Linked DNA regions of Homo sapiens: regions 1, 2 and 4 are each linked to region 3. The links are contacts of gene promoters, found by promoter capture Hi-C in blood cells and fetal thymus (Javierre and others, 2016). All regions are on one chromosome and are shown on one strand. The core of a region is centred on a gene start or on the middle of the fragment in contact, and the rest is flanking DNA. Distances in the headings are between cores, read along the strand shown. Region 1 overlaps ANKRD44 (ankyrin repeat domain 44). Region 2 overlaps LINC01923 (long intergenic non-protein coding RNA 1923). Region 3 holds the start of BOLL (boule RNA binding protein). Region 4 overlaps LINC01923 (long intergenic non-protein coding RNA 1923).

Region 1 (6,505 bases), core at 2,659-5,158, 590 kb before region 3:
TCCCTATAAACCCTCTTTTCTCTTTTTATCCTCCTGTTGGCTTTCTTACAGGTTATGTTGCTGTTTATTGCTAGTTTGGGGGACCAATATAAGTACTATCAGTAAGACAGAGTAAGATTCCTTGAGGAAACACTATGTAAAAATGTCAAGGTGCAGAATGGATATTTCAATATGCCAGGAATTTGTCCATGGGTTTCTCCTCTGCCATAAAAATTCCCAGCAAATGAACATATATCTCTTTTTCTTTCTCGAAAACACCCTCTCAATTCTGCTTCTTGACAAGGTGTATGGATAGTTTCTGAAATTGCCAACAATTAAGTAGCAGGAAAGAAGTCTTGAAAAGAATACAAGTTTACTGCTAGTTCAGTCTTAGCTACTTACTCTGCTTAAAGACAGGCAGATCCTTCCACACTCCCCCTAACTACCTGCTAACCAAGTCTCCGTTCGGGTTACATCTGCCCCGTGGCAAGGACCACATTTCACACAAGACACAGAGCCAGACACAAATTCAGGGTTTCGACAAAAAAAAATATTGAATCTTGTTTATCTGCTCCATAATTCTCCATCTGCTGTGCTCATGGCCAAATGCTCATGTGTGCATTTCTGCCTTTTTGGACCTTAAAAGAAAACAAGCAACAAACCTCCACAACCAGAGAACGATAAGTAGAGGCAGTGTCTGACAAGATTTTCATGTTAAATCAGGAGTAGTCAATCAACAGCTGAACAGTTAAGATTCCGGGGAACAAACCCAACACAGTAGTTAATGCACCACTACTTAGTCACTTTAAGGGAACATAATGAGGTGAGCAGAGTCTCCCAGTTGCGAGTGTACGGAATACATACATTCTGTTGCATTCACTCCGTCCTCACACTTCTGAAGAAAGGCAAGCATTCCAAGCTATGGCTGGAATGTTACCAAGGAGAGGCATCCCAAAAAAGCTTCCAGAGAAGGGCGCCAGCACAGTCCTCAGCAGGGAGTGGTGCCTCTGGGACTAATGCTGCTAAAAGCTACTTTATAGAGAATTGTCAAGGCACAGAATCCCCAGGAGCCATTAGGAAGAAGAGGCTGAGCTATCATTATAACTCTTCCAATACTGAAGTCACATATATGCATACATATGCACCTAGGTACATATGCATACCTATCTACACTCAGGCATGCATGCATAGAGACACATGTTGAGTCATACACAAACCCCTTCTACTTCCCGTGGAATAAAAAAGCAGCTGTTCTCCACATCCCAAAGCCTTGCTATATGGACATCTCTAGCTCAACTGTGCCATGTGGCTACTGAGACATCGCCTTCACAATTATGAATTTAAGCATCATGGGATTTCAAACTAGAACTTCACAGATAACGTGCTTTGCTTCAACTGAAGCTGTGTGTTTGTATGGATATAATTACTGAATGGAATGCATAATGATTCTTGAGCAAGTAATATTTATTTTTTAAATATTATGACTGCTTCTTCTTTTTTTCTCTCCACACTCCCAAAAACATTCCCAGAGAGCACTTTGGCACTCCTTTTTGTTGGAATTTTAATGAGATCCTGCTGTTTTATTTTTCCCCAGGTAAACACTTAACCTAAGAAAAAATATTGGGGAAAAGATATATCTAAATACTATATTATATGATGTTTAAGGCAAAGAATATTCTAATTACAATATTCTTGCTCATAAGTATTAAGGACATATATTCTGTTGTTCATTAATTTGGCAACCATCATAACTTTTGCAGCTTTTGTCTTAACTTAAATAAGGCTTAGAAGCAAAGTCCTACCTGCACAAGAGCAGAGTCCCAAGCCTTGGCATATACAGATATTTCTTTTTAAAGTTTCACACATTTTAGCACTAGCATATATAACACGAGTGCTTTGTGTACAGTAGGGTACAGAGTTGAATAAATACAAAATTGTAACAAGGGTCAAAATTGAGAAAAACAAATAGTGGTAGGAAAAAAGGAGATTCAGATACCATGAAATCATTGATCATCATCCCCTAAAGAAATTTAAATTCCTAAGAGAGGTATGCAGTCTTTTTAGCTTCAATTGCTAGAATTTTCTTAGCATGCTTAGCAGCTGCAAAATGATTGTCAGTGCTGCAGATATTGGTGCAGTGCCTCTGGTAGATTCAGAAGACAGAAGGACACTTCCTGGGCCAAATTTACCAAAAGCACAAGTGGGATTTGTTGTTCAGATGGGACCTGTCCTTGCCTTCAAAATCACCAACAACTAGCCCCCTACTACCTTTCCAGGAGTGTTGACGGCTGCCTTCTAGAGGTGAATGTCTGCCAAGCTGATGACACTTGACCCCTCTAAGATAGAAATGGGGAACAGAAAGACCCCTTGATCTTATAAATTTTGTAGCTGAACTTGCTAACCCTTGGAACTGAAATCTAATCAGCCGAAAGCCACTTTCTCTACCCACATCCCCTATCGGCACATCCAATAAAATATTCTGTTTTTATTCTCACCCTGAAAACAAACTGGGAAAATACCAGACTTCCAAAAATAAAATGCTAAATCAAATATGTACTAGGGATAGTTATTCTCAAACTTTGAAGTAGAGTCAAAATTCCACTAGGGGGAGCAAGATGGTAATTTGTTACCTGGGAGGTAAAAGCAAAGGTTCAGGATGTGTAATTAAGGAAGTAAGGTAATTGAAAAATCCACTTCATTAAAAACATAAAAGAACTCAAGCTTCTGAAAGAGTTCTTAGTCATAAGTAAACATGCACACCATGCACATACTAAAACAAACAAACAAAAAAACACCAAACACAAAAAATTCCTATTGATCCCTGAGGATCCAGGTTTTAGAAATAAGAATAAAACTATCTAAAACCTACGTGCTAAGGTATCATTTTCATCATCTGTGAAATCCAATTCAATTATTATGTCAATTCCATGAAAAAAATATGCTACTGATGTCATCAGACACACCCTCCATTTAAGAATGAAGCCCATCATGGGTTCTACAAAGAGAGCCAAGCTAGTTTAGAGTATCCACTCCATCCGGCTATGAAGTCATCAATGCCCTCCCACATCCCGCAAAATCCCCTAATGAAACCACCATTTTGATTTTTGCTAAAACCACTGTATAGTATATTTCACTTTCCCTTTGCCAGAGTTGCATGCTCTGTACTAATGAATTGGCTTTGGAAGATAGGCAGAGTGACAGAGGCTGTCATTGAGCATTGGTAACTACAGTCAATGGTAATAAGCCCAAGCAGCATCCAGGGATGCTCCAGCATTTCATTCTAGATCCTGGTGTGTTGCTTGTGTTTTTCTGATTAGATCGGGAAAATAAAGACTCCAAGTCTAAAAGAAAAACATTTTGCATTCCAATCAGAAATGGGTGTTGGGAATCAATCAATAGCCAAGAAGGAAAATTTGATATTCCTAAACATCTGTCCCTCCTTGAGCATTCTGAGTACATATGTCATTAAAGTAAGATGGGAGTGTGTTATCAGTAGCTGATAGCTGATACAGCAATAATCTAGCCATATGAAGCCATCAACTTATATGAACAAGCTGAAACACTTCGTTAGGTAACAACTGTTTTTTGTAGGAGCCAGTGCTTGCACTTTTGTGAAAGGATAATAAAAATTTGTTCAAGTCACTAGATTTAATGAACAAAACCTGCTAACTGAATTCATGTGAGTTCTGCTGTATGATCTCCTGCAAGGATTTCATTGAGTTCTTCCTGAATATAGATCACCCTTTACTTGAGAAGTTCACTCCATCCCAGAAAGATAATGATTATCATAAAATCAAAATCTGTTCCTCTTAAGTACCATAAGGACAATACAAAAATATACTGAGTCCTTATAAATACATTTTTTAAAAAATCAGGGAGTGAGGCAGGACTGCATGTCTGAAAATGTCTCCTACAGGCTATGCTGCAGAGTAAATATATATAATATTTTCCATTACTATTAAAAACAGAAAAAACATAAAATTCCATGTTATAGTCATGCCCTCCAAGTAGCATATTTGTTAACTCTATATTTAACATTATGAAAAAAGAATTACATCTAATTAGAAAATGGAGAAAATTAATTTATTACCTAATCTTTTCCCAATGAAAATAACACATGGGTACTGACTATGAAATAGTTACTCAAGGACCAACTACCCCAATTACCCAATTTTTGGAACATTTAATCCTTTGTTGCTCCTTCCTTTCCTGAGATTCTCTTTGGGTGTTTCTCTGCTCTTTAATACCACTAGTTATCACCCTCACCCGATGGCCAACCCAAAGTAAAACAAAATTCAACTTTGTTACCAGTTACAGACAAAAAGTTGGGCCAAAGGAAGTGATGGAATAACAGTATCAGTTAAATTGAAATCTGGAGGCAATGTTAATTTTTATTGATTAAAATGTTAATTTTTATTGACCTCCTTTTTTTCCATAGTAGAAAGATTAATGCTATGGTATCAGACTGACCAATTATTAAATCCAATCCATTTCCGTTTCAGTTTTCTCATCTCTAAGATGGGGTTACAATAGCCATTTTATAGATGTGTTTAAAAAATAACGTAACGGCCAGGCGCGGTGGCTCACACCTGTAATCCCAGCACTTTGGGAGGCCGAGGAGGGTGGATCACGAGGTCAGGAGATCGAGACCATCCTGGCTAACACGGTGAAACCCCGTCTCTACTAAAAATACAAAAAAAACTTAGCCGGGCCTGGTGGCGGTCGCCCGTAGTCCCAGCTGCTCAGGAGGCTGAGGCAGGAGAATGGCGTGAACCCGGGAGGCAGAGCTTGCAGTGAGCCGAGATCGCGCCACTGCACTCCAGCCTGGGCAACAGAGAGGGACTCCATCTCAAAAAATAAATAAATACATAAATAAATAATAAAAAATAACACAACATATGCAACACCCCCAGCACGGGGCCAGATGCCTGGTGTGCACGCAATAAAAACAGGGATGATTGTTTACCTTAACAAGCTCAAAAACCTTCATAGACAAGTACCTTTATGTGCATCCTAAAAAAGGAAAAATAAGAGATCTTGAAAGATTTCCTAAAATACTACAGAGTAAATAAATTGAGTTAGGATTATAACCCACTCAACACCACCTCTAAAGCAGAGGGGCCCATCATATTGGGAGAGAAGCTTTTACAGGCCTGGGAGCAAAAATCAAACTGAGCATGACTTGGCCTTTGTTACACTCAGCAACCTCGAAATTGTCACACAGTCCCTCTGTACTCAGAAGTCTAATCTATAAAGCCAATAACTCACTGAACTAATACATCATTTCTTCTTGACTAATCAAAAGGTAACTGCATATATTCATGCCAGCTTAATGGGACCTGAGATTGTAATTTTACTACTTAAGGTTGTCATAAATACATGTAGTTACACCTTTCTTTTGTGATCTCCTGATAGACACAAAGGAAATGAATTCCCTGTTTGGAGCTGTGACGAAGTCTAATGATTTGCCTGTTAGTGACAAAGTTGAGACTAGAACTTAGTTTTCCTGATTCTCGCAGCTTGGTACTTTCTCTCACATGTAATATAATATATATATAATTCATGATCAGAATTCAGCTTCAGTTTCAACATACCTCCTATGGAGAAATATTATACACTAAGGAAAAAGCTGCCATATATGAGATACATTCTCTCTATACGTATGCATATATATTTACACAAATAGTGGCCAAATGCATATACATAGATAGATAGATAGATATAGATATAATTCCTTGCAACAAAATGGCTAACAATAAAATAATCTTACCAAAAGACAGAAAACAAAGGGCTACAGTCTTTCAAAGTTGAGGGGGCTCCGCATGGGTCTGAGTTATAAAGATGAAGAAGGTAGGCACTAAGCAGAATTTTGAAGGATGAGACTGGGGACTGGAGAGTAAATCTTTCATGTTGGAAAATAATAGAAGATGAAGTTAGAAAAATGAATAACTGGGTGGGGGGAGCATCACATCAGCATAAGAAGCTTTAACCTAATCTTTTTGGTGCAATCATATAGCTCATTACCACCTCAAACTCTTGGGCTCAAGCGATGCTCCCACCTCAGCCTCCCAAGTAATTCAGACTATGGGCACAGGCCACTGTTAAACCTGGTGAATTTTTAATATTTTTTTGTGGAGACAGGGTCTCGCTATGTTGCCCAGGCTGCTCTTGAACCCCTGGCCTCAAGCAATTCTTCTGCCTCAGCCTCCCAAAGAGCTGGGATTACAGTCATGAGCACTGTACCCAGCCTTTACCTAATCTTATGGACAAACAGGAATGGGGGTCATGAGCAGGAGAAAGGAATAGAGTTTTCCCAAGAATTTAATCTGGCCAAAGTGTACACTGAGTACTGGAGAAGGAGAGATTGGAGTTAGAGGCCCAGTTAGAAGGCTGTTGCTACAATCCAAGCCATCACAGGAAAGAACTTTCCCATCTTTTTTTTAATCACAGTCTCCCCAGGTGCTACTTACAGGGATACGGTGAAAACAACAGATATAGTTTTTGGTTCTTTAATGTCTGCTCTATT
Region 2 (7,043 bases), core at 3,998-6,497, 510 kb after region 3:
CCTTGCCCTACGCAGCCTGTCCTCTCCAGATTCACTGCCTCCATGCTGTCCTCCAGTCTTGCTGCCTCTCTCTCTGTCTAGAGTGTGCTTCCCTCTGGGCTTCCTCCCTAGTGTTTCAATGTTCATCCCCTACTCAGAGGGTCTTGCCTGATCACTCTGTTAAAGTTGCAAATTTCCATTGCCTTCACGATTCCTAGACCCCCCCTGCCACTCAGTCTCCTCATCACAGGCCACACTTTTTAACTACTCTCGTGGACGCAGTCCATGCCCCTTCCTGGATTCGCTGGGCAGTGCTTCTCTGCTCAATGATGCTCCGGGAAGATCACCCAGCAGCCACCACATTCTGGTGGGCATAGAGGGGAGGGCTTGCCCTTGCCTGAAAGTAGGCTTCTTGAGCTCTGTCACCATCCTGGTGGGGCGGCAACGTGGCGTCCCTGCCTTGGGCAGGTGGGCCCTCTGCGAGAGCCACTTCCAATCCCCCATTCCATGTTCAGGCCCAGCTGGACTGAGCACTGCTTTTAAGGAAGCTATAGCCAGTTTGACAACTCTTTCTGTGCCTCATCTTTTCTCTTTCCTGCTTCTCTGGAATTTTACTCTCAAAGAAGTTTTAGCCATAAGCTGTTGCCTCAGGTTCTATCTTCTAGGGAAACTCCCCAAAGTGTAAATCTCATACTATGTACTTGGCTTCTCAACTTTATCATCTATCTCCCCTCCTAGTATATAAGCCCAGTAGGGCAGGGTGTGTGTGTGTGTGTGTGTGTGTGTGTGTATTTCATTTAGGGCTGTATCCTCAGGGCTTAGAGCAGTGTCTGGCACATTGAAAGTTATCAATACATGCCAGTTACATGGATGGGTGGTTATCAGAATGTTATCTGTCTCTCCCACTGGAACTTAACTTCCATAAGGGCAGGATTGCTGCTATCTTTCTCCATATTGTTTCCCCAGCGACCACAATAGTTTAAAAAAAAATTTAAAAAGTCTTATCTCATGACAGATTAACACCACAGTAGTTTGTGGGACATGCTGGCTCTCAATATTTAAAACTAATACTTAACAGAGGTGGGAGAAAGCAATACATAAAGATAATGTTGTTGAGGGAAGCATAGACATTGGAAACCAGGGAAATAGCCATGGAAGTTTCTGGAAAGGTCCAGGGACCAGGACAACTTAATCAGAAGGATCCAGTCAAGGTCATCCCACTTGAAAAGTAGCAGCTTCACTGGAAGTGTCATGGCATCTTTGGCATGTTATTACATAAACAGTTCAATACTGAATTTTAATAATCTTTGGAAAAGAACAAAATGTAGCCCCCTGTGGCCCATGCCCCTTCCAGTGCATTGGCCCAGTGTGGCTTTTCCAGGCATCCCACCCAAGGGGCTGGACATCTCTCCTCCATGACCTTGGAAGGCCTGTATCTTACAGGAACACATGTCCCTAAGAGCACTACATGGATCTAGCCCCATTGCTGCAGGTAATTTGATTGCCCCTCGGTGTTTAGTTTGAGTTAGTTTTATATGAAGGTTTCCTTCTCTCCCCCTTTTCCATTTATTCCAGTCAATAATACTTTCTTTAAAATAGAGAACCTGTATGCCAGGTACCGTTAGGATTTGGTGATATCTATCAATCAACGGCACCAATAGAAAACAGAGGGTACCCTCAAACTGAGATGATTCCGAGAGAGTTTGCACAGCAGGGGCTGTTCACACTGTGCGAGTGTGGGGGAGCGACAAAGACTCGTGCAGTCGCTGGAGCCAGTAGTTGGTGCTCCCCTGACAGCTGCAGAGCCCAGGGCAAGAGTACAGATGGAGGCCCATGTGCTCCGAGTCAGAATATTTCAAAGTTATAACTCAAGCAACCACATTGTTGAATAAAATCTGTTCTGTTCTCTACCTCAACAAATGGGGCACTTATGTAATGACTTTGAAGGCCAGGTCTGCACATAGAATTATCACATTCTCTAAGTTACAGACCATACCACCAGAACATGGAGGTGAGGGATAGACATGTTGCCCTCAGTTCTGCAAACACCTTTACAAGCTCATGGCCAGACACCCTAGGCCATGTGTCCAAACTCCACTCACAGTTCCACAAATAACTGCCCCACTGGCCCTTGGGTCTGGGGTCACAGTTCCCACCCACCCTGAGACGGAACTGAGGATTGGACTTGAACAGACCCTGGAAGCTGGCTTGGGTCTATCTGAATGGGAAACCTGAGTTCTGAGTACACAGTGTGTTCTACAAGTGGAGAGCTCAGTAAAGATTGGTCAGGACCCATGTGCCTGTGTCGGAGGACCACAGCGATAGTACCAGCAGTGCTAGTAGTACCAACTTTCCTTGCTAGGAATGGAGGGAGGAGGCAGGGCTGTAGACTGCTGCCTTTGAGCAGGGGTGATCTTCTTTCTAGAGGCAGTGTCATCTGCAGGTAACCTTGCAGCAAGGGAGCAAAGGGTCATAACCTCCCTGTGATACCAAAACTTCCTATTGGCTACACCCAGCCAGAATCCAGAGGGCTTGAGGGTTCTCATGATGGGGCTCTCCAGGCCAGAAAGCAGGCAGAGATGTCAGCGGAGTGAATCTGGGGGTGCAAAGTAAAGATACCAAGCACAGGATGCATCTGTGAAAAATACAGCCCTGGGTCCTGGACCTCACCCACAGTCAATGCTTTACCAATGCCAGTAAAAAAGAGTTTGGCAGTGCCCATGGCCTTAATGTTGTCTGGGCCTCAGGGAAAGTTCAAGGGGAGCCTGGAATCTGCTTGCCCTTTGACTTTCAGGATTTTTAAGAGTTGAGCACTTGAAGCTACTGGGAGGAGAGGAGAGGCACAAAGGTAATTAGCTACAGTGTTAATGGATGTTGTCACTTGCATGAGTCCTTGAAATAGTTGTATATAGGACATTGTTTAAAATTACTGTATGACTTTTCATTATTTGTATGAGCACATTGCTAATTAACACAAGTAATCATCCATACAAATGGATATTTATTGTACACCTGTTTTGTGCAAGGCACTGTGCTAAGTCTGGTGGGGATGTTCTGTGCCCCAGGAGCTTAGAGTCTAGATTTGGCTTCCAGCTCTCTGATCCTTCCATTCTCTGAGATTCTCCCCATTTCCCTTCCCAGCCACCCCATCTTCTTAATTCCTCTGGGATCTAAGAAAAAATGAAATAGAACAGGAGATGGAACTAAAGAAAACTTCTCTGGGTAAGGTGGGCCAGCAGAGAGAGAATAGAAAGGAGATTTTTAAAAGGGGCAGGGTGGCCGGGTGCAGTGGCTCGTGCCCGTAATCCCAACACTTTGGGGGGCTTAGGTGGGGAATCACTGTAGCCCAGGAGTTTGAGACCAGCCTGGCTAACATGGCAAGACCCCATCTCTACAAATAAACCAAAAAAACAAAAATTAGCTGGGTGTGGTGGTGGGTGCCTTTAGTCCCAGCTACTCGGGGCTGAGGCAGGAGGATCCCTTGAGCCCAGGAGGTCAAGGGTGCAGTGAGCTGTGATCACACCACTGCACTCCAGCCTGGCAACAGAGCAAGACCGTGTCTCAATCAGTCAATCAATCAATGAATAAAAATAAATAAATAAAAAGGAAGGGAGCAAAGTGTCTCACAATGTAGTACCCAGGGAAGCAGATGGAGCTCTGGAAGGAGGAGGAGAGAGGTGATGAAGAAGACCATGAATTAGTGAAAAAAAAAAAAAAAAGAAAGAAAGAAAAAAAACATGTAGTAGGAAAGGAAGGTCTCACCTTTTGAGCATGCATTCATTTTTTTAAGTACCCATACACTGAATATCCTTGTCCTGGTTCACTGAAAAACATTGTTACTGAGCTCCTGCTGTATATACTGGAGGTCTCCAGTGTGCACAGATGCATCTCCCACAGATGCATACTACCTAGTCTCTCTGTAAGATTATTTTGATGGTCCCTGGAAGCAGTCTTGTTTTTTCAGGACTAAGGTGAAAGTAACTTAAAATTTGCATTAATCAAAATTAATGAAAGGAAATCCATGATGAACAAAATATCAACAATTTATATAAAGGCAATATCAATATCCTAGGGCTGAAACAACAGATCATTTATGTTCCTATCAATAGTGAAACTCATATAGATTTCTTATAATTAAAACAAAAGGAAGGGTATAGGGAAAGACACCAGCCAAGGCAGTCTTAACTATTCACAGTCTGCTCAGTTGTGCAGGCTCAGTTGAAACAGCTGGTCTAGGGTCTGTGGCCGCTTTAGGGATAATTCTGAGGTGGGTTCGTGCTGCCATCTAGTGGTCATATTGCATTATACGCCGTCTTCACTTCTGGAGGCTCTCTTGGGGGAAAACGTGATAAACCTGAAAAGATCCAGGTCAAGGAGGTAGACGAATGTGAGAAATTTTCCGGATTGACAGGTTTTTGGATGTAACCAATTATTTGATATTCTGGTTTTTTTTGTTCTCTTAAAATACGAATTGGAATCCTCTTATGTTTGAGGAGCTGTGCTAGATGCTGGATATGGTCTGGTGAATATGCATGACCATGTCTTTGTCCTGGGAGAGCTCCTTGAAAGAGTCCAATTCACCCACCAGCCCATTTCATTAAAAACAAAGAACCCTGGAGAGAGTTGGAGAAAGTAAGTGATTGGTTTAAAGTCACATAATTAGTTAATTGGGGAGTCAGCCTTAGAATCCAGCTGTGTAAGCTTTTCATTCTATACTGTTGTCTTCTCACCTTAACAGAAACTTGTCTTTAAGATGTTGAGCCAAGCATTTAAAAGTTACTCCTCCAAATCCTTCCTGAGAGGAGTAGTTGTAGCATATTTCAGATACAGCTGCATTTCTGCTATTAACTCTCTAGTTTAAGTTATAGCAAGCAGTGCTGCTAAGAAACTTACTGCATAAGTACGTAAGAGTCAAAGTGATACAAAATTGACAAGAGTCATCTTTGTTAAATGTAATTTACTTAACACTAGAAAAAGGGAAGTGATAACTTACCCTTCGTCCTTGTGCCAGCAAGGGTATCTTTTTTTTTTTTTTTTTAATAACTGAGCTGCTTCCCATTCCAAATTTCATTAAGACCCTGGCTTCAAGGGATCATCAATGATCCCTTCTCCTACTAATCTCTTGAAAGTAGCTTCATTTTTCTAGGTGCAGGGCACTATATGTTCACCAGCAATACTTCTTATATTGAGTTTTTTTTTGGTGGGGGGGGACAGGGTCTTGTCTGTCACCCAGGCTAGAGTTCAGTGGCGTGATCTTGGCTCACTGCAACTTTCACTTCCCAGGTTCAAGCAATCCTCCCACCCCAGCCTTCTGAGTAGGTGGAACTACGTGTGGTCCACCACTATGCTTAGCTGTTTTTTTTTTTTTTTTTTTGAGATGGAGTTTTGCTCTTGTTGCCCAGGCTGGAGCGCAATGGCCCGATCTCGGCTCACCACAACCTCCGCCTCACAGATTCAAGCGATTCTCCTGCCTCAGCCTCCCAAGTAGCTGGAATTACAGGCATGCGCCACCATGCCCGGCTATTTTTTTGTATTTTTAGTAGAGACGGGGTTTCTCCACGTTGGCCAGGCTGGTCTCGAACTCCTGACCTCAGGTGATTAGCCCGCCTCGGCCCCAAAAGTTCTGGGATTACAGGCGTGAGCCATCGCGCCCAGCCTGCTCAGCTGATTTTTAAAATTTTTTGTAGAGACGAGGTCTGACTATATTGCCCAGGCTATGTTGATGCTACTTGTTCAAGATAAAATAATAAAATCTAACAAGGCGAGATAAAAAATTTTGATTAAGTGCTAAGTGGCATACATATTTAATATATACTGTATTTAATTTTTATTATAAAAGCTTTCAAACATACACAAATATAAAGTTTGCAGTGAACCCCAATGTATCCATCACCCAACTTGCCGACATTGGCATCACTCATTTAGCAAGATTCTGCTGTATTGTTTTTTCTATCCTGTTTTTCTTCCTTTTTTTCTGAAGAATTTAAACAAATCACAGACACTTTACCCTTATTACACTTTACTCTTAAATAAAAAATTAAAATTCCTCAAAAATATGGTTCTTTGTTTATATATAGACAGTCATATGCTGTATAATGAGGTTTTGGTCAACAGTAGAGTGAATATATGATGGCAGTCTTGCACAATTATTATGGAGCTGAGAAATTCCTATCAGCCGACTTGTTACTGCCATTGTAGCATCATAACTCAATGCATTACTCTTGTGTCTGTGGTGATTCTGGTGCAAACAAACCTACTATGCTGACAGTCATATAAAAATCTAGCACATACAATCGTGTATAGTAAATAGTCCTTGATAATGAAAATAAATGACTATGTTACCGGCTTATGTATTTACTATACTTTCGATCATTATTTTGTAGTGTACTCCTTCTACTAATATAAAAAAATTAACTGTAAAACAGCATCAGGTGTGTCCTTCAGGGGGTATTCCAAAAGAAGGCATTGTTATCACAGATGACAGTTCTTGCATGTTATTGCCCCTGAAGACCTTCCAGTGGGAGAAGATATGGAGGGGAAAGACAGTGATGTTGATGATCCTGACCCTCTGTAGGCCTAGGCTAATGTGTGTTTGAGTCTTAGTTTTTGATAAAAAATTTTGAAAAGTTAAAAGAATTAAAAATAGAAATGAGCTCATAAAATAAAAATAAAGAGAGAAAATATTTTTGTACACTTAGACAATTCATTTGTATTTCAGGCTAAGTATTATTATAACAGTCAGAAAATTTTAAAAATTAAAAGGTTTGTCAAGTAAAAATGTTACAGTAAGCTAAGGGTAATTTATTATTGAAGAAAGAAAACAATTTTAAAATAGATTTAGGGTAACCTAAGTGTACAGTGTTTATAAAGTCTACAGTAGGGTACAGTGATGTCCAAGGGCCTCACATTCACTCATCATTTACTCACTGACTCACCCAGAGTAACTTCCAACCTGCAAGCTTTATTTATGGTAAGCAACCTATACAGGCACACCATGTTTTATCTCTTATACAGTATTTTTACTGTACCTTTTCTATGGTTAGCTATGTTTAGATACACAAATA
Region 3 (7,289 bases), core at 11-2,510:
AACAACCTTTCACACTCAATTCACTTCATTCTCCTCCACTCTCTAAGGCTCTATTGTGGGCTCGCTCTGCTTAAGTTTTCTCCCTCATCATTTTCTAACATACGATATAGTTTACTTAGTATGTTTATTATCTGTCTCCACTATTATGTAATGCACCAGGGCAGAAGTTTTGCTTTTTTCATGGCAGCATCTAAAGTACTGACAGTACACAGCAGGTGCTCAATAAATATCTGTTGAATGACTAAAAGTGAATCATTTCTTCAGGAGAGACCTGCTCATGATATGCCAAATAGGCTGAAGGCTAAAGAATACAGTATAACAGCAGTCTAATACATATATATATATATATATATATATATATATATATATATATATATATATATATATATATTTGAGACAGTCTTGCTCTGTCGCCAGGCTGGAGTGCAGTGGCGTGATTTCGGCTCACTGCAACCTCCGCCTCCCTGGTTCAAGAGATTCTCCTGCCTCAGCCTCCTGAGTAGCTGAGACTACAGGTGCGCACCACCACGCCCAGCTAATTTTTTTGTATTAGTAGAGATGGGTTTTCACCATTTTGGCCAGGATGGTCTCGATCTCCTGACCTCGTGATCCGCCCACCTTGGCCTCCCAAAGTGCTGGGATTACAGGCGGGAGCCATCGCGCCAGGCCTACAAAATATTTTAATGTTAGCAATAGCAAGGCTCAGGTGGAGGCAACATCTAAGTTCATTATAAACAATTAGCGATGCATTGAGTTAAACAACAAAGAAAGCCTGAAATTCCACTAGCAATAATTCCGCATGTGTTACGGAAACACCTAGATGGGGACTGTTGCCGGGTTTGAAGGCTCCTCCGTTTGCTAAAACTTCCAGCACTAGAGAGTTTATTAAACTACTCCTCCAAAGCAATGTGCCCTCACTGGCCCCTCCCCTTGAGAATCAACCTCGAGATCTAGCATCTATTTTGCAAACGAAGACAGCAGGAACGGGCGGGCTAACCGTCGCAGTCACTGCCTCGGCGCTCCTCCCCCTCCAAGGCCAGCAAGTTGCGGCACTGGGGGAAATGGCCGCGGCGACAACTTCCTCGAGTTCTCTCGGGTCATCGTGAACTTGGGCACCGAAACGAGGATCCACCCCCTCCCCACCAAAGTGCGGGAGGGAAAAGAAGGCTAGCCAGCGAGAAATTTTGCCCCACAAATCCGCCAGCAGCAGTGGCGGGAAGCCTCAACGGCAGCGACCCCGCCGCTGGCCTCGTGCGCAGCTGGTCCCCACCCTCGCGCGGCGCTCCCTGATTGGCTGCTGGCGGCGGGACGGGGCGGGGCGGGATGGCACGTTGCCGCTGCGCCTCGGGCCTGTGCGGGCAGTCCTCCTTCACTTCCCCAAGTCCACCCTGACTGGCTTGGGTGCACAGCCAGGGCTAGAGTGTCCGGGTCCCGCCTGGGCCACAGGCGGGCCCTGCCAGGTCTCTCAGACCTTCCGGTCCTCGCTGACCAGTCGGGGAGTGGAGGCGTCGACCGCCCTGGCAACTCCTCGCCTTGGGCGGCTGGGTCGAGTTCGGCCGCAGGGAGCGTCAAAGACGCTGCCTAGCCCAATTTCGGCGGGAAAGCGGTTTACCTGCTCGGACTTCGCTGGGTGCCTGGCAGCCCGCCGCCTCCCGAAACATCCACGCCTGAGGTCCCCTGGCCCGTCTACACCCAGTCCAGGCCCCGTGGCGGCGCCTTTCTGACCCCCATGACACAGCCAGACGAGGTCTGCGGGCGGGTGGCTCCTGGCAGCGGTCGATGGGGCACCTGGCCACGTTTCTTCCCAACCAGATAGCGAGCGTTTGGGGCCTTCACCTCGCCCCTCCAAGCCCTCAGGGACAGGCTCCACGCTGCTCCTTCTCCCCGCTATCCCGCGCCCTGGGGCCCTGATCGCCGTACTCACCGGCCCGGACTCGGTTTCCATCTTCCTCTCTGCTCTTCAGAGACGCGGGGTAGGGAAAAGAAGCCTAAAGTTTGAAACCACCTTCACGCCAAGGCAGCAGCGCTGCTTGTCCTGCCTGGGACTCTCGCCCCCTGGCGGCGAGGGTGGCTGTGGCAGCTGCAGGGAAGCAGGCTCGGACCCCGGCCCTGAACCTGCCACCTGGCGGGTGGGGAGAAGCGGACTGCGTCGCCTCGGGTGGCAGGTGGCGGTGCGGGCGGGCGCTGCAAGCCGGAGAGGGGCGCGGGAGGGCGAGTTTCGGCTGTGGCCCTGGGACTCCGAGCCGGGGCGTCTCAGGGGCAGAGCGCACGGCACAGCGGGGCGGGCGTGGGGCGTGCGGAGCGAGGGCTCGGTTCTGGGACCCCTCTCGCCTTCTCTCAGACGGCTGGGGAGGAGAGAGCGAGCGGTCAGGCAAAGCTCCATGCACGCCTTCCCCTCTCCTCCACTTGAGAAGAGTCGGCCTCTGGGACTGGTGGGTTTCGAGAGGTTGAGGTGACCTTAAGGCTTTACTGAGGTAGAAGAAGCCGGTTGACGGGCGACTTCCGAAGACTGGTGTAAAGCGAAGAAGGTTCTAGAGTCAAACTCTGACTCTCGGGGCCTGACTCGCAAAACTCGGGGGCTCCCGAGAAGCCGCGGACGCCGCTCTGCACCTGTTGCCGCCGTCACTCATCCCGCCAGGCGGGCGGGGCCGCGCGGGTGGCTTGGTCAGGACCTGCCATTCAGCCCAGTCGGGCTCCGGTGCTCGCCCCGGACGGCGCCCCAAGCGGGTCCCGGCCCCGCTGAGCACCTCCAGCAGTGGCACAGCCTCTGGAGGGGTCCGGGACGAAGCCACCCGCGCGGTAGGGGGCGACTTAGCGGTTTCAGCCTCCAACAGCCTTGGGATCGCCTTTGGAAGAAGATTGCGCTTTTTTTCTTAAATTAATGAATTAATTTACTAATTATTTTTATTTTTGAGACGGAGTCTCGCACTGTCGCCCGGGCTGGAGTGCAGTGGCGCGATCTCGGCTCACTGCAACCTCCGCCTTCCGGATTCAAGCGATTCTCCTTGTCTCAGCCTCCCGAGTAGCTGGGATTACAGGCGCCCGCTACCACGGCTAATTTTTGTATTTTTAGTAGAGACGGGGTTTCACCATGTTGGCCAGGCTTGAACTTCTGACTTCAAGTGAGCTGCCTGTCTTGGCCGCTCAAATTGTTGGGATTACAGGCTTGAGCCACCGTGCCCGTCCAGTTGACTAATTATTTAGACACGAAGGCTCACTCTGTCGCCCAGGCTGGAGTGCAGTGGTGCGATCACGCTCACTGAATTCTCGACCTCCTGGGCTCAAGCGATCCTCCCACCTCAGCCTTCTGAGTAGCTGGGACCACAGGCAGGCCCACGCCACCATGCCTGGCTGAAAGAAGACTGCTTTGTAAATAATACGTATTTCTAGTAGGTAGCTAAAATGATTACAACTGGATAAACTTATAGTAATGATTATCATTATTATAGCTGCCATTTATCAAGTACTCACTTTGTTTCAGGCACAATGCTTTATGATCAGTATCATTTAATCTTTTCATGCTCACAGCAACCTTTCAGATAGATGCTCCAATTATCGTCATAGTACGTGATGAAGCAGAGATTTGAAGGATAAGTAATTTGGTCAAGATCTAAAGCTGTAGGAGGTTTAACCCTCGTCTCCCCCCCAACCCACAGTTCTTGATCATAACCATTTTGCCACATATTTTTAAAGAATCAGCAGTAACAACTGTTAAAATTTACACCAGTAATAACTATTGTACACACTACTATAAAAGTTTGACTTTGGGTTACTTTGCCTTCAAGATATAGAATTAAAAACAGAGTGAATATATTAATTTTTGATTTATTCAAAGATTAGCTCTTCATATTATTTTACCCAAAATAAAATGGGAAACAATTTTTGTTTATCTTACCCGAAGAATCCCTAAAGTCATTATACATTTCTGCATGCAATTTAAGCTCATTTTACCAGGTTTCAGTCTCTGTGGAAATCGAGAATACAAACCTATTTAGATGAAAACTCATATTCTAAAGCATAATAATCTTACTGTTCAATACCAGTAGAACTAATCTTCTTTGGGCATTTTTTTTTCCTAGGACTGTTGCTGGATTTGGGTAGATGTTACTATCCTCTCTTGCCCAAAACATTTTGACTAAAAACACTTATTTTCAAGAACTACATTCTCTTAAAAAATGTATTCAGCGCAGTAGGTGTTTAATCTGACAAAAATTTACGTAATTTAGGGAACGCTAACTGTATTTCAAGGCTGGTGTTGGGTACTAGAGGGATATACTTTATTTTCAGTGTGGCAGTTCTCTGTTCTGCCTCTTACTATTAATTCTTACACCAAAAGGAAAGTTCAGCTTTAAAACTTGGATAAACCACATAAAATTATGCAATGCACCCCAATTTAGTAGACACTTAACAGAGTTCCTATTCTGTGCAGTACATAATGGAATATAATGTGGGAGATATGAAGATGAAGAACAGGGGTGTCCAATCTTTTGGCTTCCCTGGGCTACATTGGAAGAATAATTGTCTTGGGCCACACATAAAATACATAAACACTAACGATAGCTTATGAGCTAAAAAAATAAATCACAAAATCTCATAATGTTTTAAGAAAGTTTACGAATTTGTGTTGGGCCGCATTCAAATGCGGCCCATGGGCCACCAGTTGGACAAGCTTGAAGAACAAGGTCAAACCTCTGTTCTCAAAGCATTTTAAATCTAGAAGGATAGAAAAAACTAATTACTCCAAACAGTATAATATAAATATGCTTATAAGAAAATAAAATACAGGCATAACAGGCTGAGTGATATATTAACAATGATCAACGGTCTGTGGGAGAACAGAGGATAGCATCATAGAGCACAGTGTCCAGGGCTGGGTAAGGGCATTGTTAAGGCTGGAATGCTGGTCTGGGCAGAAAAATTGAGGGAAAGATATTGAGCCTGCATCATGTACCTAATGCTGGGCTAGCCACATTCTTTTTAAGTCTTAGTTCTCTCTTTTTCTTAGTCTCTCTTTTTCTCTCTCTCATTGGAAACCTGAGTCTTAGAGAGGTAAAAGTGACTCTCGTGGTCACATTGCTAGTAAGTGGTGGATGTCATTTTCAAAACTTTGTTCCTTTTTTTAAATTATACCTTAAGTTCTAGGGTACATGTGCACAACGTGCAGGTTTGTTACATAGGTATACATGTACCATGTTGGTTTACTGCACCCATTAATTCATCATTTACATTAGGTATTTCTCCTAATGCTATCCCCCCCCTACCAGCCCCCTACCCAACAACAGGCACTGGGGTGTGATGTTTCCCACCCTGTGTCCAAGTGTTCTCATTGTTCAGTTCCCACCTATGAGTGAGAACATGTGGTGTTTGGTTTTCTGTCCTTGCGATAGCTTGCTCAGAATGATGGTTTCCAGCTGCATCCATGTCCCTGCAAAGGACATGAACTCATCCTTTTTTATGGCTGCATAGTATTATACCATGGTGTATATGTGCCACATTTTCTTAATCCAGTCCATCATTGATGGACATTTGGGTTGGTTCCAAGTCTTTGCTATTGTGAATAGTGCTGCAATAAACATACGTGTGCATGTGTCTTTACAGTAGCATGATTTATGTTCGGGCTCAGTGCACTTTGTCATGTTACTTATACTATGGCAATAAAGAGAATTTTATTCTGGAGACCTTTGTAAATAGGGACCATTGAAGATGATTGAACCAGGAAGTTGTATAATCAGAGCCAAATTTTAGGAAGATATTTTCATATCAAAGAAGAGTTTTTGAGGGGCACAGACTGGAAACAGATAGTTGAATTTGGAGGAGAAAACAATTCAAGTGAAAAATAATGGGGACCTGAACAAAGGTGACAGGAGTGAGAATCAAACACTGGGAAAAGGTTAAAGAGATACCAGTGAGGAATTGAGACTGTTGGGCATGGGTGATGATGGAGAGGGATTGGTGAGGCTCATTCAGAAATCTGGTTTCACATATGGGAGATACTGTTTACCAAGATAAACATAAAAGTATAGCACATTACAAATTGCAAACCTAAAAATCCCATTTTCTTAAGTTTTCTGCCAGGTTCCCAATGTTTCTCATCTTTTTTCTTCGCACAATCTGTTCAGAACATAGTCTTTGTTTCAGGGATTTACCCAACTACCCTTCTTTCTTGCCTTCCCTAGTTGACAGTTCTTCCCTTCTTGCCTCTTGAGTTTTCTAACTTCAGATTGAAGCTCCTAATATCTACTTCTGGCTCTCATTTTCTTGATAACCCTTTGGATGCATTCTCTAGTTTATAGATGTGGATAACTATTTTGTTCCTCCTGTGGGCAGGCTTTATGCTATGGCATGGGATACAGCAATGATTAAGGCCTAGTTCTTGCTCTGGTAGCAAGACCTAGTGGCAGCCTGTGATCTAGTGCAAGAAGCAGCTAAGCAGCCTGTGGTCTAGTGCAAGAAGCAGCTAAGTAAGTAAAAAGTTTATACATTCATTGTGCTAAGCATGGCAGTAGAAGAGTTGCCAGGTACAGAGATAGCCCAGACCAGGGAGTGATTTAACTTGGTAGATAAAACAACATGAAAAGACATGTTTAGAAGATGCCTCTGTTTCCATTTTATTTTTTTTCTTGTTTCCAGATCTATTAACTTATTGTTTCATTTTGGAGGATTTTAGGTGCTTTCTTTTTCTCTGTAATGGTTGGATGTTTGAAATAGGAGAGGTGAGGGATAGAGTTTAAAAAAATGCCTTAAGAAAGCAAAGAGGACAGCTCAGATCTTCTTTTCTCCTACAGGGAGCACAACACTTAGACTTGGAGAGGTTGTTACAGAGACGAAGACTAGAACAATATTTGATTTATTGGATTTTTTTTGGTAAAAATTAGTTCATTTATTTGCTTACGCTGTTTACTGTGAGCACTACTTAGATACAAGAACATACAATATAGAACCTACTGACTAGCATAAAGTATGAACTCAAAAAATATTTGTAGAATAAGGGAATAAATGAACAGATAAGCCTCACCCCATACCACACTTTGTCTAAGTCCCCACCATTTGATTCTTACTTTAGACATTTGGACCATTAAGAGGCTCACCAGCTGGACTGTCCTCTAATCCTTATCGGTAGAATGAGATCAGATACTTACTTTCTTGTCCTTAACTCACAGAAGTGAATTTGGACATGTTTAACTGTAAAGGAAAGTTTTAGTTGTGATGCTTAGTAAGAGGTGGCTTTTTTTTTCATTAAGATATAAACTAGGAGACTTCTTGGTACTTTAGACAGGCTAGCTCATGGC
Region 4 (7,410 bases), core at 3,861-6,360, 530 kb after region 3:
TCTCCGTGGCTTGTAGATGCCCATCTTCTTATGATACCCTCACGTGGTCTTTTCTCAGTGCGCACGGAATCCTGGCATGTCTTCACATGTCCAAATTTCCTCCTCTTATGAGGACACCAGGGAGATTGAATAAGGGCCTACCCTAAAGGCCTTATTTTAACTTAAACACTTCTTTAAAGGCTCTAACTCAGTGGTCTCCAACCTTTTTGGCACCAGGGACTGGTTCTGTGGCAGAAAATTTTTCCACAAATGGGTGGGGTGGGAGGGGATGGTTTGGGGATGATTCAAGCATATTACATTTATTGTGCACTTTATTTCTATTATTACATTGTAATATATAAAGAAATAATTATACAACTCACCATAACATAGAATCAGTGGGAGCCCTGAGCTTGTTTTCCTGCAAGTAGATGGTCCCATCTGGGGGGTGATGGGAGACAGTGACAGATCATCAGTCATTAGATTCTCAAAAGGAGCACACAACCTGGATCCCTCACATGCGCAGTTCACAATAGGGTTGGCACTCCTCTGAGAATCTAATGCTGCTGCTGATCTGACAGGAGGAGGAGCTCAGGCGGTAATGCAAACAATGGGGAGCCGCTGTAAATACAGATGACACTTTGCTAGCTGCTCACCTCCTGTTGTGCAGCTCGGTTCCTAACTGGCCACACACTGGTACTGGTCTGTGGTAGGGAGGGGTGGGAAGTGGTTTAGGGACCCCTGCTTTATCTCCACATATGGTCTTATTCTTAGATAATGAAGGTTAGCGCTTCAACAGATACATTTTGGGGAGACACAGTCCAATCCATAACATCTTGGTTCCTTGCTTGTGTAAGTTTAGAATGGTGGAGGGCAATGGGCTCTCTCTCTTTCTGAGTTTACTGACCAGCTTTCAGTGAAACAAGCTCTGTGCCCTGCACACATCAGGTACTCAATATACATTTGTTGAGTGGGTGAATTTCTGCCTGGAAAAGTGACACATTTTACTTTGCTTAGCCTTGCCTGATATCTTCAGCTGCCTGACAGGTAATAATTAACTGTTGAAAGAAAGGCATAAATACTTCCTTTTAAACATTGACATTATGTCCATCTGGTGAAAGAAAAGGATAGAAGCAAATAAAGAGAGTTCAGGAAATGCTAAAATTTCTTTGAAATAATTTCATTGAAAATTAACAAGTTGATTATTGTGAAAACAGATTCCAATTTACACATAATGGCCAATCATCTAGTTTTCCTGGCCTCTGATGAAACCCTTCCTACCTAGAGTGATCTGCTTTTTACCCCACCATAATGGTTATGGAGGGCTTCTTAGGTTAATTTGCCTTTCAGACTTCAACCGCTTAAAGATAATACATTTAACTCAATTATAAGCTGTCGCCCTGTTCACAGTGCAATTTCTTCTGCCCTGGCATCCCTGCCCCAACACTTCTGCTGCTGTGCCCACCCCTCACTTAGGCTGCAATAACTGAGTTCTTTGCAATCGGACAACTTGTACGGGGTCTGCAAAACTCTAGCACAGAGGCCGGCAGGGGCAGTTAAAAATCAGAGTCTCCCATTTTCAGAATTGCTCTATTTCAGGATGAATTTCTGGCCACAAGAAGACAAAGTGAGGTCTCCTGGGTTGACCAGCTGAAAGTGGGTCAGAAGGCTGGGCTCATGGGAGAGCTTCCACCTACACTGCCTTACAGGGGCCACTGGACACCAGGCACACGCTCACTTGTCTAGGCTCCAAGGGCCCGGCTTAAGGGACAGGAAGAAGTGAGGGACCCTAAACTTTGTCTTCACTTGCTATAATGTTCCCTCCCTTGAAGCATGTTTCTGTTTTTCCAAACAACTGGTTAATTATTGATTGATTTTCTAAATCTCACCCTCTTTAATTGGGAGCTGTGGGCTAAAATATAAGGCATTGAGTTGGATTTAATATAAATATCCCATCCTTCATGCATCTTCAACTTTCTCCTAACCCTTCAAAAAAAGATTGTTTCTTCCTCTTGTCTCTTGGACTTCCCTTTTTCAGGCTGCTGTGATAAAGTTCTTGATACTTTCTTTCTCAAAAGACTTTTAAAAAATCCTTTATGTTGGCAGGGAATTAACTCATGAATAAATGGATAATAATACCGGCTGACATTTTTGGAGCGTTGACTATTTGGCAGGCACAAAGCCGAGGGATTTGCTCGCATTATCTCACTTGATCCTCTCAACAGCTTTGTGATAAAGCCCACTTCACAAACGAAGAAACTAAAGCTGAGAGAGTTAAGTAGCTCGTCCTAGGTCATGGGATTAGGAAGCAGAAATATTCAATTCTCAAGTTCAGGAGAAAGGAAGGAAAGTCCGTGACTCTGAAACACACACAAAGGTGGAAGGTCCAAAGCTAATGTTTACTACTTTCGCTTAACAAGGGTGTGTAATGCAGCCACTATGCCTAATACCCCGAAGGTAACAAAAGGGGCCGAGCTATAGACCTTGCCCTTGGAAACATTTTTAGTCTACTTTGGTGGTTCCCAAACTGTGCTACACATTGGACTGATATGAGGATCTGTGAATGTGTATACTAATGCCTGCTAGGCCCCCAGAAAGTCATATTTAAATAGTTTGTATGAGAGTGTGATGTGGGCATCAGGACTTTCAAAAGCTTTCCAAGTGATGTTAAGGTGCAAAGTCTGGGAACTGCTGGGCTAGCAGGAGAGTGACACTGTCATACATTGATTGTGAAGCAGGAGGTACATCCATGTGGCATTGTGTGGCTGGGTTATAATTTCCGCAAGAATTTTCATAATTCACTTGCCATTGAAGTCAGGTCAGCAGACCCTCAAATCTGTTCTTTTGTGTTTTCCTCACTTTGCTCTGGATAGCACATTACTTTGATTCACAAAGCCCTGGGCAACAATCAGTATTTTGGTTTCTTTTCTTCCTGCACAAGGTTCAAGAAAGAGCTTTGGTTCACCTGGGTTTCTGTGGTCTCGCCCTGGCTACTCCCCTTCTCTCCTCTGTTTCCCCTTACCATCTAGCTCGCTTCCCTGTTTCAGCTTTTGTTCTCCATTTTCACTCGTTTTTTTGCTCGCTGAAAATTTCTCATCATTTACTACTCCTCATCTGTCACTCATCTATCTCCCTGATTAAAATTTGACAAGCTTAGTGCTTAAAAAAAATGCAACTTTTTTTTTGAAGGGAAAAAAGCTCCAATGTCTTTTGTGTACTCATTTGATTAGGAAATTTCCACACATTCTGCCCTCCTTTCTACAAACTCGTATTCCATTCACCTGTGTCATTTCCTGTGCCCCTGTTTGGAGCTGATCACCTAATTATTTTTCATTCAGTATCTGTTGATCACTCATCCTGTCCAAAGCACTGCTATTCCTCTTTGAATAGCAGTTTTAAACTTGTTAGGGAAATGCAGAATTCCCCTTGCATGTTACCATTACTCCATTTGGTGTTTAACTGTACTGAACATATTGAAAGGTTGAAAGAGACATTACTATTTTGGTTATTTATCTGTTGCCGAATGTACATGAAAAGATGTAGCTTTTCTTCCAATGTTCATCAACAGCAGATAGTATTTTATGGCTATGAGATTTTTAAAGCAATTACAGCTATTCATTTACATTTTACTAATTGTTAAATTTTACCAATTTGGACAACGTTAGAAAAATACAGAGGAGGTTTAAAAGAAAGCCATGAGGAGATAGGAAAAAGAAATACTAGAGAGTACAGAATTAAAGTATGAAATTAATTCCAAATAAACATCACCAATAGAGCTGCAGAGATCAAATAGAACAAGAGGAATAGAGACACATACTTAGAACTATACAGAGAGAAACAAATTCTTAGAACTAAGCAAGTAGGTAGGCATGGGCTAAGGTTAAGTAAAACACCAGAAATTGAAGATAAGAATGGATGAGTGAGAAAGAGAATTAACATAGAAATAAAGAGTTTACTACTTACAAAGGTATATACGCCAAAGGAAAAGAAACACAGGAGTTAAGTTGTCCTGGTCCTAGTTATAAAGGCGCAAACTCGCACTTGTTAATAAAGACCATTGTATTCGAAAACCTGGTTGAGGATTATTCATTCTCGGTAGAAAGAACTTTCAGCAGTTTGACAAAAGTAGAATGCAGGAGTTGCTTTTATAGAGCCAGAAGATGGCACTGTTGTCAATGTTTGCAGGCAGAGAATAACGAATTCTTGTTATTCAAGCTGGTTTCTGTACGGTTTAGCCCAATAGAATGCCCTTAAAGGAGGATTATGTGTGGATTTTTATTCTATAGGTTTTCTATAAAATACAGAAAAAAAAAACCCAAACCAATTTGAAACTCAAGAAAAATGATGCATGATCAATGTTTTAGATCCATATACCTGTTACTTATGGTCAATATAGCTGCATCTTCATATGGGCATTCTATTTTGGTTAGGTTTTTAGTTTATTTTCCCCATAATGAGCAAAATCTATTTCTAGCTAATTTAGGGTAAGTGATGGATTAATTGTATTACGTTTCTAAGTTAGTATTATTGGAAATCCATAGACATCATTGTGTTGCTATTGTTTTAGGATGTTAAAACTTCTGCTCTGGTTGTGTATTACCAACCATGTTTTCCAGCTGTGGTGGCTTATCTTACTATGATAGGATTTATGTATTTATTATCATGCTTCAGACAAAAAGATGTACAAGGAAAAACATTTTGACTTCATTTAGAGTAAATATGAAACAAGGCAGGTCTCACTGTTGAAATTTCTTTATAGTAACACATTTCTTGGTTTGTTCTTTGCAAAATTTTGAACAATTAAATAAGTATCAAAAAAGTTAGTCTTGAGGAATAATTCCTGGACCTGAAAAGGAGGCAACACTGCAACTCTCACCCTAAATCTTTCCTTTCCTTTAACTCTCTCTCTTTCTCTGTGTGTGTGTGTTTGTGTGTGTGCTAGGACTGTTGGTGAGGAGAAAAACTGGGGTGAGGTCAAGGTCAAGAGACAGAGTAGAAAGACAATTTTAGCTTTGGCTATTTTAATTTCATACTCAGCGCTGAATTTAATCACTTTTTTATCAAATGGAATTCTAAAGCTATATTCTGAAGAATCACATTATGCTTAAAAAGAATATATTTGAATGTAATTTTGAAAAATTAACCAGTAATTAAAAAAATAAGAACACATTCTGCAATGCCTATTTAAAAACTTTTTAAGAATTGCATTTGGTGTTCTGTTACATTATTAATCCAGGTAAACTTCCTGCATTTATTCACACAGGTGGGTACATTTCATCACAACCACATATGACTCAGACTTCTAAAAAGTAAAAACATGACATTTTTGGTTAATAATTATTTCAGCAACATTTCCCGAGCATCTTTTATATCATAAACAACGTGGATCCTGATTCAGCTCTTCTGGATTCCATAATAACAGATGGATTGCGAGACTGTTTACTGCTGCTTCCCACAAACTTCCTCTTTGTAAACTACTATATTATTTATGAATCAGAAAAGTTTCAAAGAAGCCTCCTATCTGATTACTGCTTACTGATGAACTTGCATCAGAGAAACTTTTAGCCCAATTATCCCAGTTTGTTACAAAGAACTGTTATTATTTCAAAGTCTGAATTTGTTAACTGGTTACTATGCCTGCTTCTTTGTGCCATTTTACTCACAAAGTCCTTGTCAGACAGATTGCAGTAACTCTATCCTCAGGAAACAGGTCATAGTGAATATATCGGCACTGAAAAATGAAGGCAGACTAATACCAAGTATTTTATAAATAGTATTACCACATCAGGCACTTTGAGATCTATTTGAAATATGCTTTGGAAAATATTACAAATGATTTGGCTTTGAACTGATTTATATTTATCTTTGTGGAAAATCATATCTAGGTTTGTGCAACAATGCAGTCATGGAGTTTGTAGACATTTTTGGTCACTAAACTTGACACTTGTAATTGTTGGTTTGAGTGTCATGCAGGAATAAATGCTGAAACATAATGAAGCTGCAGTATACCTCTTTAAAGTTTATTTGAGCCACCATGACGGGCCTGATCCATTCTGATTTTACAATTTACTTTAGCAATAGAAGCAACGTTTCTTTTCTGTGAGTGTGTGAAGTGGGCACAAAGATACCCACACTGATAGGTTTTTAATTAGACTCAAGAGAAAAGGAGACAAAACCAAAGGCAAACAAAACAAAAATCTCCCCTAAAATGAAGGCCTGCGAATAAGCCTAACCTTGCCTTCCGATTTCCACCCTCTGTGCTACATTAACGCTATGCAACAAGATTATGATTAATTTATCATGACCTTGATAAGAAACATATTTACAGAAAAATGTGGTCAATTACAATTGTTCTTGGGCTGAATCTGAGCTAGTTGTGTGTGTGTGTGTGTGTGTGTGTGTGAGAGAGAGAGAGAGACAGAGACACAGAGAGAGAGAGAGAAAGAGAGAGACAGGACCAGTGATGTCATCATCCTATCAAAAATATAATTGTAAATACCCTGATTATGAACTGAGCAAGTTCTCACCCTGCCCCTAGATGCTGTCCTCACCGTTGACTCTCGCTGCCCGCATGGGGACCTAATGCTGCGGCAGAGCAGCTGCAGAATCCCTGCATGCCGAACTCAACCAGGAAGAAGCCAGTGACAGATGCCTCTGCATTTTATGCAAATAACAACTTCATGGATCAGTTTTCCTTTCCTCTATGGAATATAAGCATCTGGAAAATAGAATTCCAAGGGCCTTAGCACATTAACAAATGAACAGAAATGACCAAACCACGCAGGTATAACAGGACTGACCTAGAATGTCAAAGAGGAGTGTGTTCATTAAAGCCCTAGTTTTATTGTAATTCTTTCCCACTCAAACTGGGTGCTTTTCTCACTTCCTAGTACTTTCTTTCCATAAGTCTGTAGTAATTGAAAAGTATATTGTTTTATATCACTGTCTCCCAGCCACTATCCCATCGTTTTAGAGTACATGTAGTCAGAATAAATAAATCAACACGTTGGTTGAAGATGTGTTTAAAATGGTTCTAAACAAAAGCAAAAACAGAACAAGAACATTCTTCCTCAGAAAAAAGTTATTTTTTCAAAAGTAGAACTAAGTTTCAAAGCTTAAGATTTTAGATATTTGCAGTTAAATAATTACTATTTTTTTATATTGCTGTGCCACTTAACATATACTTATGAAAAATCATAAGCTTTATAATTAAAGATGCAGCAAACATTTATGTATATTCTGACATTCAGCTTCAGCTTCTAAATGGAGATTACTACTATTTCAATACATAAATAATTTTATAGTACTCTCATTTGCTTTAAGAAGGCTTTCACATTATACCTAATTTTATGTAAATGTTATTCAGATTTCAATCCAAGAGTTTTGTAGGGGAGGTTAAAGGGTGTTTATCTTGATTTGTTAAAATGCACC

The links. The method cuts DNA at HindIII sites, captures the fragments that hold promoters and counts their contacts. A CHiCAGO score of 5 or more calls a contact.
Region 1: a contact is called between a fragment that was not itself captured here and the fragment with the promoter of BOLL in region 3, in 1 of 17 cell types (erythroblasts). The highest score is 7.7, in erythroblasts.
Region 2: a fragment that was not itself captured here is called in contact with the fragment with the promoter of BOLL in region 3 in 13 of 17 cell types (M1 macrophages, M0 macrophages, M2 macrophages and 10 more); the score reaches 20.0 in M1 macrophages.
Region 4: a contact is called between a fragment that was not itself captured here and the fragment with the promoter of BOLL in region 3, in 3 of 17 cell types (M1 macrophages, M0 macrophages and non-activated CD4 T cells). The highest score is 7.8, in M1 macrophages.

What each region holds. Positions count from the first base shown.
Region 1 is chr2:197,189,052-197,195,556 of GRCh38, forward strand. The region is part of intron 1 of ANKRD44 (ankyrin repeat domain 44); the gene reads right to left. Among named protein-coding and RNA genes, the nearest start is that of ANKRD44-AS1, 5.7 kb to the right of the region's middle. The HindIII fragment of the contact is 2,421 bases long and covers 2,699-5,119 here.
Region 2 is chr2:198,292,602-198,299,644 of GRCh38, forward strand. LINC01923 (long intergenic non-protein coding RNA 1923) reads right to left here. Exons shown (of 3, transcript NR_110267.1): 3 at 6,762-7,043. Among named protein-coding and RNA genes, the nearest start is that of LINC01923, 79 kb to the right of the region's middle. The HindIII fragment of the contact is 1,138 bases long and covers 4,679-5,816 here.
Region 3 is chr2:197,784,059-197,791,347 of GRCh38, forward strand. BOLL (boule RNA binding protein) reads right to left here and starts at 1,261. Exons shown (of 11, transcript NM_033030.6): 1 at 998-1,261. RefSeq lists an enhancer at 2,437-2,666. The HindIII fragment of the contact is 5,410 bases long and covers 1-4,667 here.
Region 4 is chr2:198,310,618-198,318,027 of GRCh38, forward strand. All of the region lies in intron 2 of LINC01923 (long intergenic non-protein coding RNA 1923), which reads right to left. Among named protein-coding and RNA genes, the nearest start is that of LINC01923, 61 kb to the right of the region's middle. The HindIII fragment of the contact is 3,962 bases long and covers 3,130-7,091 here.